Linked DNA regions of Homo sapiens: region 2 is linked to region 1. Evidence: promoter capture Hi-C in 16 types of primary human blood cells and fetal thymus (Javierre and others, 2016). All regions are on one chromosome and are shown on one strand. The core of a region is centred on a gene start or on the middle of the fragment in contact, and the rest is flanking DNA. Distances in the headings are between cores, read along the strand shown.

Region 1 (7,800 bases), core at 2,476-4,975:
GGGACAGAACGAGACTCCATCTCAAAAACAAAACAAACAAACAAACAAAAAAAAAACCAAGATGAAAAGACATGCTGCTGACTAGGAGAAAATATCTGCAAACTACATATCCAACAAAGCAGTGGTATCTAGAATACATTAGGAATTCTCAAAGCTCAACAGTTAACAAAAACCGAACAATCTAATTACGAAATGAACAAAAGATATGAACAGACATTTCACCCGAGAGTATACAGGGGCCAGGCATGGTGGCTCATGCCTGAAATCCTAGCCTTTGGGAGGCTAAGACAGGAGGATCACTTGATCCCAGGAGTTCAAGACCAGCCTGGGCAACATAGCAAGATCCCATCTCTTCCAAAAAAAGAGAGAATAGACAGATGGCAAATAAGCACATGAAAAGATGTTCAACATCATTAGCCATCAGAAAAATGCAAATTACAACCACAAAGAGACATTACTACACATTTATTGGAATGGCTATAATAAAAAAAGTAACATCACCAAATGCTGGCAAGTATGTGGAGAAACAAGACCATACAGTGCCGGTGGGAATGTAAAATAGTACAATCACTCTGGAAAACAGTTTGGCTATTTGTTTAATAACTAAGCACGCACTACGACTTAGTGATTGTATTCCTGGGCATTTATCTTGGAGAAATGTCAATTTATGTTCAAATAAAAATCTGTACATGAAGGTTTGTAGCAGCTTTATTTGTAATAGCCAAAGAATGGAAACAGTAAAGATGTCTTTTAATGGATGAATAAACCAAATGTGGTACATCCATAGCCCAATAGCCCGGCTTCAATAAAAAGGAATGAAGTACCTTTTTTTTTTTTTTTTTGAGACAGGGTCTCACTCTGTCACTCATGCTGGAGTGCAGTGGCGCGATCTCGGCTCACCGCAGCCACCACAGCCTAGGCTCAAGCGATCCTCCCACCTCAGCTTCCTGAGTAGCTGGGATTACAGGAACACACCACTGCGCCTGGCTAATTTTTTTTTTTTTTTTTTTTTGTAGAGACGAGGTCTCACTATGTTCCTCAGACTCGAACTCCTGGGGCTCAAGCGATCTGCCTGCCTCAGCCTCCCAAAGTTGCTAGGATTACAGGCGTAAGCCACTGCGCCTGGCCAAGGAATGAACTACCCATAACACGCAACAACCTGGATGATTCTCCAGGGAATTAAGCTGACTGGAAAAAACCAATCCCAAAAGGCTCTATGAATCCTTTTATTTGGCATTCTTGACATGCCAAAATTAGGGAAATGAAGAACAGATTAGTGGTTACCAGGAGTTGAAGGACTGGGAATGGGAGGAATGTGGGTGTGGCTATAAAAAAGCAATGGAAGGGATCCTTGTGATGACGGGAATATTCTGTATCTTGAATTTTATTAATGTCAATATCTGGCTGTGATATTTACTATAGTTTTGCACAATGTTAGAGAAGTGGGAAAGGAACACAGGATCTCTCTGTACTATTTATTATGACTGCATAGAATAAATTTTTATGTACAATTTCTTAAAATTTTACTGTTTTCAAAATGAATTTCTCAATAATTTGTACAATGATCTCAAAAATTACCTAAAAATCTAAAAAGTAGATGATACTGTAGTTTTTTCTTTCCTTTTTTTTTTGAGATGGAGTCTTGCTCTGTCGCTCAGGCTGTAGTGCCGTGGCGCCATCTCGACTCGCTGCAACCTCTGCCTCCTGCGTTCAAGCGATTCTCCTGCCTCAGCCTCCTGCTGAGGCTGGAGGAGCTCAGCCTGTAGCTGAGACTACAGGCCCACGCCACCATGCCCTGCTAACTTTTGTATTTTTAGTAGAGACAGGGTTTCACCATGTTGGCCAGGCTGGTCTCAAACTCCCAACCTCAGGGGATCCACCCACCTCGGCCTCCCAAAGTGCTAGGATTACAGGCGTGAGCCACTGCGCCCGGCCTTTTTTTTTGAGACAGGATCTCACTGTGTCACCCAGGCTAGAGTGCAGTGGGGCAATAATGGCTCACTGCAGCTTGGACCTCCCTGGCTCATGCCATCCTCCCGCCTCAGCCTCCTGAGTAGTTGCGACTACAAGTATATGTGGTATATGCCACCATATCCGGATAATTTTATTTTTTGTAGACGCCGGGTATCACTTTGGTTGCTCAGGCTGGTCTCCTTGAACTGAGCTCAAGGGATCTTCCTTTCACACTCCCAAAGTGTGGGGATTACAAACGTGAGCCACCACGACTGGCCGAAATTGTGCACGTCAAATGGGTGAATCGTATGGTATGTGAATTTTATCTCAATAAAGATGTTATTTAAAGGGAAAAAGTAACTGAAATGTGAAAAGTGCGCTTAAAAAAAATAATGAGGGGCCGGGCGCAGTGGCTCACGCCTGTAATCCCAGCACTTTGGGGGCCGAGGCGGGCGGATCACCTGAGGTCAGGAGTTCGAGAATAGCCTGGCCAAGGTGGTGAAAACCCGTCTCTACTAAAAATACAAAAATTAGCCGGGCGTGATGGCGCGTGCCTGTAATATCAGCTACTTGGGAGGCTGAGGCAGGAGAATCACTTGAACCCAGGAAGGCAGAGGTTGCAGTGAGCCGAGATCGCGCCACAGCACTCCAGCCTGGGCGACAGAGACTCCATCTCAAACAAGACAACAACAACAAAAAATGAGCATACAGTGATCTTTATTCAACTTCCCAAGATCCAGTCCTCAGCTAATTTACAAAACTACAATAGTGTTACATACTCTCCTAGGTCTACACGGCAAAGTACAGTTTGACTGTTGCAACTAGTGCTGCCTTACAAAAAAAGGCTTTATCCCATGCCACCCATCCTAAACCCAGCTGTTCAGAGCAGTGTACCTGGAAATCAGCCTCAAAGTACGGACTGCAAGACAAGGCACAAGGAAACCCTAACACGAAGTCCTATGTTCTGGGCAAAGGGATGGGGATGGCAGGTGGGACGCACCCAGGTCAGGGCGAGGGCGCGGCAAGTTTTCTATTAAATCTCAGTAGATTACAACTCATATCCAATGTCTGATATATTTTCGAGGGAAAATGGTGCTTGAAAGATGTTTCTACGAGAAATAAGCTTCATCTCGGTCAATCTGTTCGACCCAACTTCTGGCAGCAGGTGTGGGGGCGGCGCCAAGGTCTGCGCGGTAATCCAAACAGGCAGTCCCACCCAGGGCCACCCCAAAGCCAGATGCTCCGACGCAACTCGAGCAGGCCACACTGTCTTTCGGACAAAGCGACGCGGTCCTCACAGGCGGGAAGGAGAGTGCGTCCCGGTCGGGAAGGACGCCGTCGGAGAGCGGCCTAACCACGTGACGCCCGCGGCGACCTTGGGGGTCACCCCTGCGGACGCACCGCCCTCTCCCTCACATCCGCCGCCGCGCCCGCCCCCCGCTCGCCCACCGCCAATGGCGCGTCGCTCCGCGCCCCGCGCGACCTCGGAGCCCGCCCGTACCCGCCAATCTCCGCCCGCCGGGCAGGCCCCGCGGCTCCATTGGCTGCCACGGCCATCCATCAGGTCCCGTCCCTCCTACCACCCTCCGTGAGCCCCACTCCATCCAGCTCCACTCCCCTGTCACCGCGGCGCCCGCAGCACCAAGGGCGCGGCGGCCTCCCCCTTTACCGCGATCTCCAACCCCGGGCCGCCAAGCGCCGCGACACCCGGCACTGGGACGGGCGCGGCGACAGCGCACGGTTACCTGTCTCCGGCTCAGCTCCACCCGAATGAGGCGCCGACACCCCACTCCGGGGCTCCAAACTCTCGGCCCCGCCCCGGCGTATGGCGTCAACACGTAGCCCTCCCCTGGAGAAGAATGCCCTCCCCTCTTACAGAGGACCGATTCGTGACGTCACAGAGCCGCGCCGGGCGTCACAGCGCCGACTGCGCAGTTGCAGAAGCCAGGGCCAGCTGGAGCCCAGCTGTTTGCTCCGCTAGAGAGATGAGGTTGTCTATGGACTTCCAGCGGCTTCTGCTATCATAAATAATTTCTGAAAGTAAGATATCTCTAGCGCCTGGTAGGAACCTATCAAGAGATAGTTGGGTTGATGTGAAACTTAGCGCACAAAAATAAACAATTTGAATAACAGAATCTCCGTTTTTGAGATTGTCCTGGGTCAGGCTTTGTGACAAGCGCTTCACCGGCGCTATTGTGTAACAATCTGTGAGACAGGTGTTCCTATCCCCGGTCTACAAATGACAGTTGGCAGTGCTGGGATCTTGCCCGGGATCTTGCCTGGGTTTTCTTGACTTTAGAGCTACCTATCAAAGATAAAACGTGGCTAATTAACCTGTCACAACCTGTTGATTGTAAGATGTTCCCTATTTTAAAGTATTAAAATTTGGGGAAAGGCCGGGCGCGGTGGCTCACGCCTGTAATCCCAGTACTTTGGGAGGCCGAAGCGGGCGGATCACTTGAGGTCAGGAGTTCGAGACCAGCTTGACCAACATGGGGAAACCCCGTCTCTACTAAAAATACAAAAATTAGCTGGGCGTGGTGGCGATCCCAGCTACTCGGGAGGCTGAGGCAGGAGAGTCGCTAGAACCCGGGAGACGGAGGTTGCGGTGTGCCGAGATCGTGCCATTGCACTCCAGCCTGGGCAACAAGAGCGAAAATCCGTCTCAAAAAACAAACAAAAAAAGGGGGCGTATAAGTGCTTATTATAGAACAAAGTTAGGGTAATGTATGTGACAAGGATCTAGAGACTGGAAGAGGTGAAGAGACCAAGGAACAAACTTCTGTATTCTTTTTTCCTTTTTTTTTTTTAAATAAATTACGGTAAAAATGTATGTACTAAACATTTGCAGCTGGGTGCAGTGGCTCACGCTTGTAATCCCAGCACTTCGGGAGGTGGAGGCGGGAGGATCGCTTGAGCTCAGGAGTTCCAGATCAGCCTGGGGAACAGAGCAAGATCTCATTTCTACTAAAAAATCAAGAAAATTAGCCAGGTGTAGTGGCACTCACCTGTAGTCTCAGCTAATTGGGAGGCTGAGGCAGGAGGATCTCTTGAGCCTGAGAGATTGAGGCTGCAGTGAGCTATGATTGTACCACTGCACTCCAGCCTGGGCCAGAGAGCAAGATACTGTCTTTTTTTTTTTAATGCCATTTTAACCATTTTTAGGTGTATAACTCAGTGGCATTAATTACATTCACAATATTATGCAACCGTCACCACTCAATTTCCAAAACTTTTTCATCACCTGAAACAGCAACTCTGTAACCATTAAGCAATAACTTCCTATTTCCCCTTCTCCTCCTGTCCTTCTCTCCTTTGGTAACCTCTATTATACGGTCTCTATACATTTGATTACTCAATTACTTTATGTGGGTGAAATCATAATGTATATGTCCTTTTGTGTCCACCTTATTTCATTGAGCATGAGGTTGTCAAGGTTTATCTGTGTTGTAGCATGGGTCAGAACTTCATTTCTTTTTTTTTTTTTTGAGACAGGATCTCCCTCGGTTTCAGGCTGGAGGGCAGTGGTGCCATCTCAGCTCACTGCAATCTCTGCCACCCAGGTTCAAGTGATTCTGATGCCTCAGCCTCCCAAGTAGCTGGGACTACTGGCACGCTCCACCATGCCTGGCTAATATTTTTTTCTTTTTCTTTCTTTCTTTTTTTATTTTTGAGATGGTGTTTCGTTCTTGTTGCCCAGGCTGGAGTGCAGTGGTGTCATCTCGGCTCACTGCAACCTCTGCCTTGTAGATTCAAGCAATTCTCCTGCCTCAGCCTCTCAAGTAGCTGGGATTATAAGCGCCCGCCACTACGCCCAGCTTATTTTGTATTTTTAGTAGCGATGGGGTTTCACCATGTTGGCCAGGCTGGTCTTGAACTCTTGACCTCAAGTGATCCACCCACCTCGACCTCCCAAAGTGCTGGGATTACAGGCATGAGCCCCCATGCCTGGCCAGAACTTCATTTCTTTTTATGGCTGAATAATATTCCATTGTATGTATATACCACATTTTGTTTATTTATTCATCTATTGATGGACACTTGGTTATTTCTGCTTTTTTGCTGTTTTGAATAATGTTGCAATGAACATTGGCTTATAAATGTTTGAGCCCATTGTGGTACCAAGCAGTGGGCTCACTGCTAGATGCACATAGAAGCCAATACTATGTCATCACCTTTTGAGAAAAGGCTTTATCGTAAGGTCGACCAGCAGGGAAACCAGAGGCAATACTCAAATTTGTCTCCCCAAGATGGAATCTGGGGGCAGGTTTTATAGGCAGAAGGCAACTATGAGGGAGATGGGAAAATACAACAAGGTGTGATCTGTTTGGGTCATGCAAAGGGGCAATGCTGGATCTTTGGCTTTTAAGTTCATATTGCAGCAAAACAAGGCGCCCCATGCTTCCTAATTTGGTGTCCATTCCTCCATTTGAGTGGTTAAGTCCTGCCTGTGGTTGACTTTTGTGTTCCCACCGACACCAGGGTCAGCTATCAGGCACACTTTGTTCATCTGGGCATACTTAGGTTACGTGACTTGCAGCCTGGGGATCTATTGTAACTGAAAAACAACTCATCATTTTGTTACTGATAAAAGTTGAACCAGGCTGGGCACAATGGCTCACACCTGTAATCCCAGCACTGTGGGAGACTGAGGTGGGTGGATCACCCGAGGTCAGGAGTTCAAGACCAGCCTGGCCAGCAGGGCGAAACCCCCATCTCTACTAAAAATACAAAAAAATTAGCCAGGCTGGTGGTGGGTGCCTGTAATCCCAGCTACTTGGGAGGCTGAGGCAGGAGAATCGTTTGAACTCGGGAGCCGGAGGTTGCAGTGAGCCAAAACCGCTCCTTTGCACTCCAACCTGGGCAAGAAGAACAAAACTCCATCTCAAAAAAAAAAAAAAAAAAAAAAACTGAATCAGATTCAACTGGTCCTGTGGTTACACCTGTTTATAATTCTTTTGCCTGTATACCTGGGAGTGTAATTTCTGAGTTATATGGGAATTCTGTCTAGCTTTTTCAGGAAGTGATAAATTCCCACAGTGACCGCACCTTTTTTGTTTGTTTGTTTTTGAGACAAGGTGTCAGGTTGGAGTGCAGTAGTGTGATCACAGCTCACTGCAGCCTCAACCTCCGGGGCTCAAGTGATCCTCTCAGCTCACGCTCCTGAGTAGCTGGGACAATGGGCATGCACAACCAGGCTAGGCTAATTTTTTCTGTTTTTTGTAGAGACAGGATCTTGCTGTGTTGCCCAGGCTGGTCTCGAAGTCCTGGCCTCAAGCGATCCTGCTGCCTCAGCCTCCCATAGTGTTGAGATTACAGGTCTGTCTCTATTTTTTTTTTTTACTGTCTCTATTTTTAAAAAAATTACTATCGGTCAGTCATGATGCCTCACTCCTGTAATCCCAGCACTTTCAGAGGCCAAAGTAGGAGGATTATCAGCCTGAGCAACATAGTGAGACTTTGTCTCTCCAAAAAAAAAAAATTAGGAGTGGTGACACATGCCTGTAGTCCTACCTATTTGGAACGCTGGGACAGTAGGATTGCTTGAGCCCAGGAGCTTGAGGTTGCAGTGAGCTATGATCATGCCACAGAACTCTAGCCTGGGCACAGAGCAAGACCCTGTTCCCCCACCTCCCCACTCCCCAACCAAAAAAATTTGGTGAGGTGTAGTGGCTTATGCCTGTAATCCCACCACTTTGGGAGGCTGAGTCAGGAGGATTGCTTGAGGCTAGGAGTTCAAGATCAGCTGGGCAACATAGCAAGACCCCATCTCTAAAAAAAATTTATTACAGCCAACTATAATAAATAGGTATGAGGTGGTATCTCATTGTGGTTTAGAAAGTATTA
Region 2 (7,800 bases), core at 3,303-5,802, 530 kb before region 1:
AGAGCCTCAACAAGGGACAACCCAGGAGCATGGACAGCTCTGCTAGGATCTCAGCTTCTAAGCACCATTCTCCAGTAAAAAGGCACCATGATCCTTAGAAAAATGGCTCATTCCCAGGTTGAAGCAGGGAAGCTACAAGATGAGTTTGGAGCATCTTCTCATGCCAGAAAGTGAGAAAGTGCCCAAAAAAAAGAACAGTTGTCAAAAGAACATGGGAGCCAATCTCAAGGCACTCCCAATGGCCAAAGCTGGAACAAAGTGCTAAGTAATCTAATAAATGATGGGGCAAAGGGCAGCCTTTCCTTACAGAATAATTCCAGTTAATAAGTGTAGAAGAACGAAGACAAACTACCATCAGGCAAACACCACAGTAATAAGTGGTACAGACAAGATCCACCAACGAATGTTAAAATTAGCGGGCACAAGTTTGAAAAGAACAAGTTATTAGTATAATCTCAAATTCAACCCCCAAGATATTTATTAACTACAAATGGAGAGATACACAGAGTCACTTTTCAGTGTTAAGACTTCCAGGCGAAGGCCACCAGGTTGAACAAGTTGGGTTTATTTCTTGCTGCAGTAACAAGGGAGAACACAGGCTTTGGAGAACCATAAGGCGACTTGGGGAGAGGGTGTTATAAAGGCCTCATGAGATTGGGCCTTGATTTTGGGGGAGGGTTTAAGAAAACAGGGTTTTTTTCTGGGTGGGAGGCTGTCAGGCAGCAGGAGTAATTAATTCTGTGATGAAATATCTTCAGCTAAAGTTATAGTTGGTAAAGAAGCAGCAATTGCTCACATGACCCAGGAGAGGGAGCTGTTGGGCCATTTTGTGGTTAGTTGATGTTCTCCTGAGTTACACTTGATTATGGAGCAGGCTTCTTTCTCTGAGGTCGATGTTTTGGGTAATTGTTTGTGTTCAGCAGGAGCACCCTAAGGCATGGCCCCCGGATGTCAGGGCTGCTAGTCTCTTTCTGAGCAGTGGAGACGCTCGGCAAAAATTGGTCAAGATTAGTATCACCAATAGACATTGCCAAAAGAAAACTGGCAGAGCTGCATTAAAAATCAGGTGAAATGTTGTCCTCTTACATCTTACTGGGCTTTGGCGTCTAGACCTCCAGTCCAAGGACAGGGCCAGAAACAAAGCTCATCTTCAGGCTAATTCCCTGGAACTGGAAATGCCTCCAGAGCAAAAGCAGCTTGGAACGTCTAGGCTCACCCCGCTGGGTTCTTGTCTTCTTCCAGATCTTGCTAGCTTTTTGATGCTTTCAGTAAGACTTTTGGGGGCTATTATTGTTCAGCTTCTTGAGTCATCCTCAGAGGGGAAGTTGATCTGGATTGCCTAGCTGCCAAAGGTCTTTCTTCTGATTCCTCAGGAGAAACCAGGGAGAGACTGAATATCAAATAGGACAATAGCCAGGCCATACATATGAGTAGAACTTGTCCCATAGTCTGCAGCAACCAGCCGGGATGCCAGCCTGCTATTCCTATGCAGCCAAATGCATAGGAAGTCAGACCACTCTCTCTAGCAACGATCCTGGAAGGCCAAACAATAACCCCTCTAACAATCGGCCCCAAATGGCCAGAACTTGATTAATAACTGGCAGCTTCCCTAATTTTTGTCCCTGCTTCCAACTTAGGACCAGCCAGAAACAAAACAAATATGCTCTTCTAACCAATCACATAGGCAGCCCCCTTTCTAGTGAGCTGCCCCAGCTTCCCCGGGCTGGCTGCCTCCATCAGGGCTCACCTGAGCCTCCCTTTTCCACTGTGAAGCTTTCCCTCCCTTTCCCTCTGCCTGCCTGTGAGTCTTGGCCAAATGCAGTGATGGCGGCCAGCCCCCTTGCTAGAGCAGCTCTAGATGAAGAGATTTTGCCTGTTCTCATGTGGGTGGTCTTTCTGTATTCCCACACCAGAAAGCTAGCTTTTAATGGTCCTCTAATGTTAGCAAAGAAAATAAAATTGCAAAATGTCATGGGGGTAAGTAGGCTGAAGGACCGCCATGTCTGCAGAGCATGGCGGGAGCCACTGAAATCTTTCTAGTAGGCTAGAGCACCCAGCTCTGCCACCGCTAGAGAAAGGACGGCCAAGGGGGCTTCTCCCAGAAACCTCATCTCAGAACCAGGCCTCAGTAGGGCCTTAGGCCCACTGTGGGTCTCTGACCCTGTACGACATGAGTAGTGTGGGACAGCAGTCTGGGCCACTTTTCTAAGAAGACAGAGCAGGGTGGTGCTCTGACTCCCAGCCTGGCCCTGGGGCTCCAGAGGCCAAGGGTAGTCCCAGGGCCACTCCCCAATCCCAGTGTGATACTGGCAAGTCCCTGACCAAGCTGAGCTTCAAGGCCCCCAGCTGTAAAGAAGGGGGCCCCTTGGCTGGAACAGTGAAAAGCCACTCCATTCAGGGCTCATTACCTCCTCATTCTCTACCCAAGGCATTGACCTGAGCCTCAGAATCTCCCCAGGGTCAGTGTTTCTGCAGAGTAGGGGCATCAGCTGGAAATCAAGAGTTTATGGAGATGTAGAGGCCAGGCCTGCTGCCCTCCCTTCTACAACCCCACCCCTGCTGGACTTTCCCTTCTCAGCCCAGGAGACCCAGGCCCCGGTCCCACATACCTTCCTCCCAGGCCCAGTGCCTACCTTTGTCCAGGCTCCCCTTCTCCTCTCCTCCCACCTCCCTGTCAACTGGCAAAGGGCCTTTCTAAAACGTGTCTGATCCTGCCTTGCCACCCTGACCCCTGGCCTGGCCCCCATGGCTCTCCATGGTCCAGCCCTGCCAGCCTCCCCAGCCCTCTCCCACCTCAGTGTTGGAGAAAATGACTCCCCAAAAAGACCCTGTTTCTCTGCACCTGCCAGGCTGCATGATATCTCAGCCTAGGACCATCCATGCTCCTTGCGTCCTTGTGTAGCGCTGGACTCTTCTGAAAGCTCGGGGGCGACTCCCTGTCAGAAGCCTCGCAGCTGGGGAGGAGCCTCTGTGGGTATGCACCTGGGGTCTGCATTTCATGTGCCTGTGCCCCTGGCCACACACAAGTGTTAGCAAATGGACCACAAGTGAACAAGCTGGACAGAGATGACACCATGAGGCCTTAGCCACCAGGGCTGCGCCCAGCATCCTCTGCAGCCCTGCTCTACCTGCTGTGGTCCAGGGCAGAAACAGAGCCAGTGGGACATCCAACCCACCTGCCAATGACCACAGGCCCATGAGGCCCACGGTTCTGCTAGGTACAAGAGAAGGGGCAGAGGGCCCACTGCAGCCTCACAGCCTTGCAGCCCTGGAGTAGGAGGTGGCAGTAGAGCTTTGAAAGATGGGAGGAGAGAACTTTCTAAGCAGGAGCTAGAGGCAGGAGGTGTAGCAACTGTATGCAGGGACATGACTTGGTGAGACAGGAGATGTAGGAAGGGTGTCAGAGCAGACAGACCATGATGAGGGCAGAGGGCTGAGGGCAGGACCTGCACCCAGGGTCGGGACCCCTATAATGAGAGTGAGACCTTCACCGAAGGGTCATGACCCCAATGACAAGGACAGGACATTCACCCAGGAGTCCTGACTCTGATGACAAGGGCTGAGGACCTGCACCAGGGTTGTGACCCTGATGACAAGCATGAGACCTTCACGTGATCAGAGGCCGTGACCCTGATTGCAAGGGCTGAAGGCAGGTCATGTACCCAGGGCCTGTGGCAGTCACCACAAGACCAGGACACACCTGTGGAATAGCATGGCCTCCTCCATCCCTGTCTTTACTCAGAGTTTTGGAGAAAATCCTGACCCAGCTGACCCCATAGGACCAGGAGTGGGGACAGTGTGCTCCAGATGACCACAACCCGGGGCCTCATTTCCCCATCAATCCTGGGCACACAGGAGCTGCTGGGGAGTGAAAGAGCCTGTGCATCTTAGAAGATGATAGGCTGGAGCCAGGCAAGCCAGGGGCCAACAACCTTCCCCTGGGCGCAAGAAGAACCCTACATTCCTTGCCTCTGGGGCTGGTGAGCCTGGAGGAATGGCATTCCTGGAACCCTCTGGCTTCTCCATTTGGCCCTGAGGGCTCTAAGGGCAGCTGTGCACCTAACCCGAACTCCTTGTCCTGCCAACACCTCTCACTCCTCCCCACTGCCCCCCACCAGCCACACAGAACATGTGTTCCCTCCTGGCCCCCCGGGCCCCAGCTCCCTCTGGTAGTTGGAATAGGTCTCATTATTACCCCATTTTACAAATGAGGAAGGAGTAAGCTGCTCAAGGTCACACAACTAGCACAGCCAAGACTAGATTCACACAGGCATGCACTCAAACGCTTCCTCTAGGCCACTTCATTCAAGGTCATGAAGGGCATGAATGCCACACCCCAGCATTTGGACTTCTCCCCCCAGGTAATGGGAAACCGCCGAAGAGTTTCAGATGGGGTTGTGATAGGATCATGCCCAGGCGTGAAAGGCCATGCTGGACAGAGCATTGACAACTAACTGGAAAGTGGGGAGGCCTGATATAGTCTTCCCTCCCTCCATCCCTGCCTCCTTCCCTCCCTCTCCCACCTCCTCCCTCCCTCCTCCCCTCTCTCCTTCCCTCCCTCCCTCCCTCTCCTCCTTCCTCCCTCCCTTCCTCCTTTTTTCCCTCCCTTCCTTCCCATTAAAGGCTAATGCCCCAGATGCTGCAAATGTGCTGTTCAACAAGATGAGAGAGGTCCTGTGCTCTGGAGGACAGTATACAGGACATCTCATGAACAAATCAGATCGTCTGTAGTCAGACAAGTGTGTTAAGGCGGTTGTTGCAGTGGCCGATGCCACAACAGCCCATCCCAGGGCAGCAGCCCAGAAGAGCTGACAGGAACACACTCAAGAGGGTTTTGGAGGGGCATCCACCAGTGGCCCAACCTCTTGGTAACTGATTAGATGGAGAAACACAAAAGGGAGGCCCTCCAAGTCTCTGGCTGTGAGGAACCATTCCCAGGGAAAGGAGATGTGGGAGGAGGCCAAGTTCTGCATTGGCAACAGTGGGCAGATGTGGGTCCAAGGCCTCTGAAGGCTGAACAGATGGGCGTGCTCCGGACCAGGCAGGGCCCTGGTTGTGCCTGGGAGCTGCTGCCAGGGATGCAGGGGTGGGGGCTAGGGCAGGGGCTCAGGGAGCGTGGGCGGATGCTTCCCACAGGATGAGGGGAGGGGAGAGCAGAGAAAGGGGATAGTGGCAGTGCCATAGACATTCCCTGAGGAGTGAGGACTATAGAGGGACAAGAAACAGGAGGGAGGCTGGGGGAGCTGGGGTGCAGGGGCAGTTTGAAGGAGGACTGCAGAGGCTGGACACCACTGAGAAGGAAAGACCCAGCCAACCTGAGCTCATGGAACTAGCAGTTACTTTACGCGTAGAATAATTTTATCTGTAGGAAAACAGCCCTGGGATTTCCAACTTCATATGAAAGTAGTAGGGGATTGGCCAGGCGTGGTGGCTCATGCCTGTAATCCCAGCACTTTGGGAGGCTGAGGCGAGTGGACCACCTGAGGTCAGGAGTTCAAGACCAGCCTGGCCAACATGGCAAAACCCCGTCTGTACTAAAAAATACAAAAATTAGCCGGGTGTGGTGGTGGGAGCCTGTAATCCCAGCTACTCGGGAGTCTGAGGCAGGGAGAATTGCTTGAACCCAGGAGGCAGAGGTTGCAGTGATCTGAGATTGCACCACTGCACTCCAAACCGGGTGACAGTGAGACTCTGTCTCAAAAAAAAAAGAAAGTAGTTGGGGTTGAAACAACACGATGTTTCAGATTTAAATTCCAACAACAACACAAACAATAGTAACATGAGTCCGACAAAATGTTGACAAGGTTAATCTAGACCATCGGTCTGTGAGTACCTATTGAACTATTATTTTTACTTTGCTGTATGTTTAAAATTATCATAATAAAAAGTAAAAATAAAAGCCTCCACCATCACCCATCGACCTATCTACCCAGTGGGCAGGATGAGCGTGTCTGCTCATGAGGTGTCGGGGACCAGCCCTGCATACCCAGGTGTGCCAGCAGGGACTGGGAATCGGGCCAGATGCTTGGAGGACACTTGGGCGGGGCCTCCCATGTGGGCGAAACATGGACCCTTTGGCCCAGCATCTCCGCCTCTACACTGGTACCCTGCAGAGCTCCCTGCCCACATGCCGAAAGCTGGGGTCTTCTGTGGTAGCAAAGAATCAGAAACAACCTAAATGTCCATCAATAGGAGACTAGCAATTATGTGGACACATCCATACCGAGGGGACTAAGCCGCCACTCAGAAGCAGGCGTGTGTCATTAAAACCCAGCCAAACTGAGCTCACAGAACTAGCTCAGTTTGGCTGAGCTAAATGGATGTTCCCCAAATGGAAAAAAAAAAAAAAAAAGGAGGGGGAGACAGTGTGCACATAAGTCGCATTTCTAAGGAGAACGGACCTGCACATCCATACTTGAACAGGCTTGATCATCTCTGAAGAGAGTAGGAAATCAGCCTCCAAAAATGAGAACGGGGGTCAGGGCCAAGTGGGAACGCCACTGCCCCCTGCCCTGCACCGTGTGTGTTGTCATCCTTGCATGCCTGTGGCTTTTCTTCCAGAAATAGTAGTAATGAAGGGAATAAAGGAGCGCAGAAAGGGGAATGGAACTGGGCCTGACATGACTGGGGGTGCTAGTGGTGTTGGAAGCAGCCTCGAACTGGCCGCCTGGCCCAGGCAGGAGAAAGGTCATCCCCTGAACCCAGATGACAGGCAAGAGAAAGATCATCCCTAAGTCTTCTTAAGTCTAAGAAGACTTAGGGATGAAGAAGACTAAGTCTTCCAGAGGGTGGGCACAGCCTTGCTGACAGCCTCGCCCTCCTCTCTGAAGTCGAAGTAGGCCATTTGCTGCTGGGAGTGGGAGGTGGGGCTCCAGGGCCCTGAGAGCAGACGAAGGTCGTGGAAGAGTCCCTGGGGGAAGCAGGGAGGGGTTGGTGGGTGTGTGATGGGAGTCGTGCCCCGGGGCCCAGGCAGACTCTGAACGCAACAGCTTTGGGGCTCCACAGAGTGAACTCATCGGAAGACGTCCACTGGCCAGGCAGAGGGTGGCTGGGGAGAAAAGGGGAAAGCGGGAGCCTGGAGCCCCGAGAGGTGTGAGGGCAGAGGTGTGGATCAGGAGGGGCTGAGCCGGCTGGAAGGGGGTCAGGCTGTGGCAGGGCCTAGCCTCTGTGGGACTTGAGACGTCAGAGTTAGAGCAGAGCTGGGGAGTAGGGGCCAGGGACAGAGGGTCTTTGGGACCCCTGGGGGCAGCCAAGACAGCGGGTAAATCAGGGGCTCCAGGTGTGTGCCACTTCATGCCAGCAGCCCACACAACCATGTGTCCCTAAGCTTGGTTCAACATTCTGCTCTTATGCCTTGAAATCCTTAATTTCACCTGTCAACATATGTGCTAGTAAGTGAAGTCTGGTGGGACAATGGAACAAACACACATGTGACCCACATGTGCAGCAGGCCTGGCCATCCCATGTGCACAGGTCCCAGAAAGGCACAGACGGAGTGGGGCCCTGGCTTCCCGACAGGCTGGAGCCACAGAAGGATGCGACGGGTCTCTGAGAAACACGAGCAGCCCAGGAGCCCTGCCGGCCCTTTCCTGCCTGCCTTATTCCCGTAGGAGCCAGCCAGTTACTCTGAAAAGGACAGCACAGCAGGAAAGGGGAAGACAGTAGCCAAGTGCCTTCCTTGCTTGTCCGGTAGCCAGAGAAGGAGAGCCTTGGCAGGGCATGTACATGTCAACAGGTGAAATCACCAGTGCTCACAGCGGTACTCCTCACGGGGGCCAAAAGGTGGAGACAGCCCAATGT

The links. The method cuts DNA at HindIII sites, captures the fragments that hold promoters and counts their contacts. A CHiCAGO score of 5 or more calls a contact.
Region 2: a contact is called between a fragment that was not itself captured here and the fragment with the promoter of OGDH in region 1, in 2 of 17 cell types (fetal thymus and activated CD4 T cells). The highest score is 7.2, in fetal thymus.

What each region holds. Positions count from the first base shown.
Region 1 is chr7:44,602,552-44,610,351 of GRCh38, reverse strand. OGDH (oxoglutarate dehydrogenase) reads right to left here and starts at 3,725. Exons shown (of 23, transcript NM_002541.4): 1 at 3,699-3,725. RefSeq lists enhancers at 2,736-3,075, 2,751-3,314, 3,566-4,165 and a silencer at 3,296-3,525. The HindIII fragment of the contact is 8,395 bases long and covers 3,079-7,800 here.
Region 2 is chr7:45,129,336-45,137,135 of GRCh38, reverse strand. No RefSeq gene overlaps it. Among named protein-coding and RNA genes, the nearest start is that of TBRG4, 22 kb to the right of the region's middle. RefSeq lists an enhancer at 2,815-3,315. The HindIII fragment of the contact is 5,554 bases long and covers 1,776-7,329 here.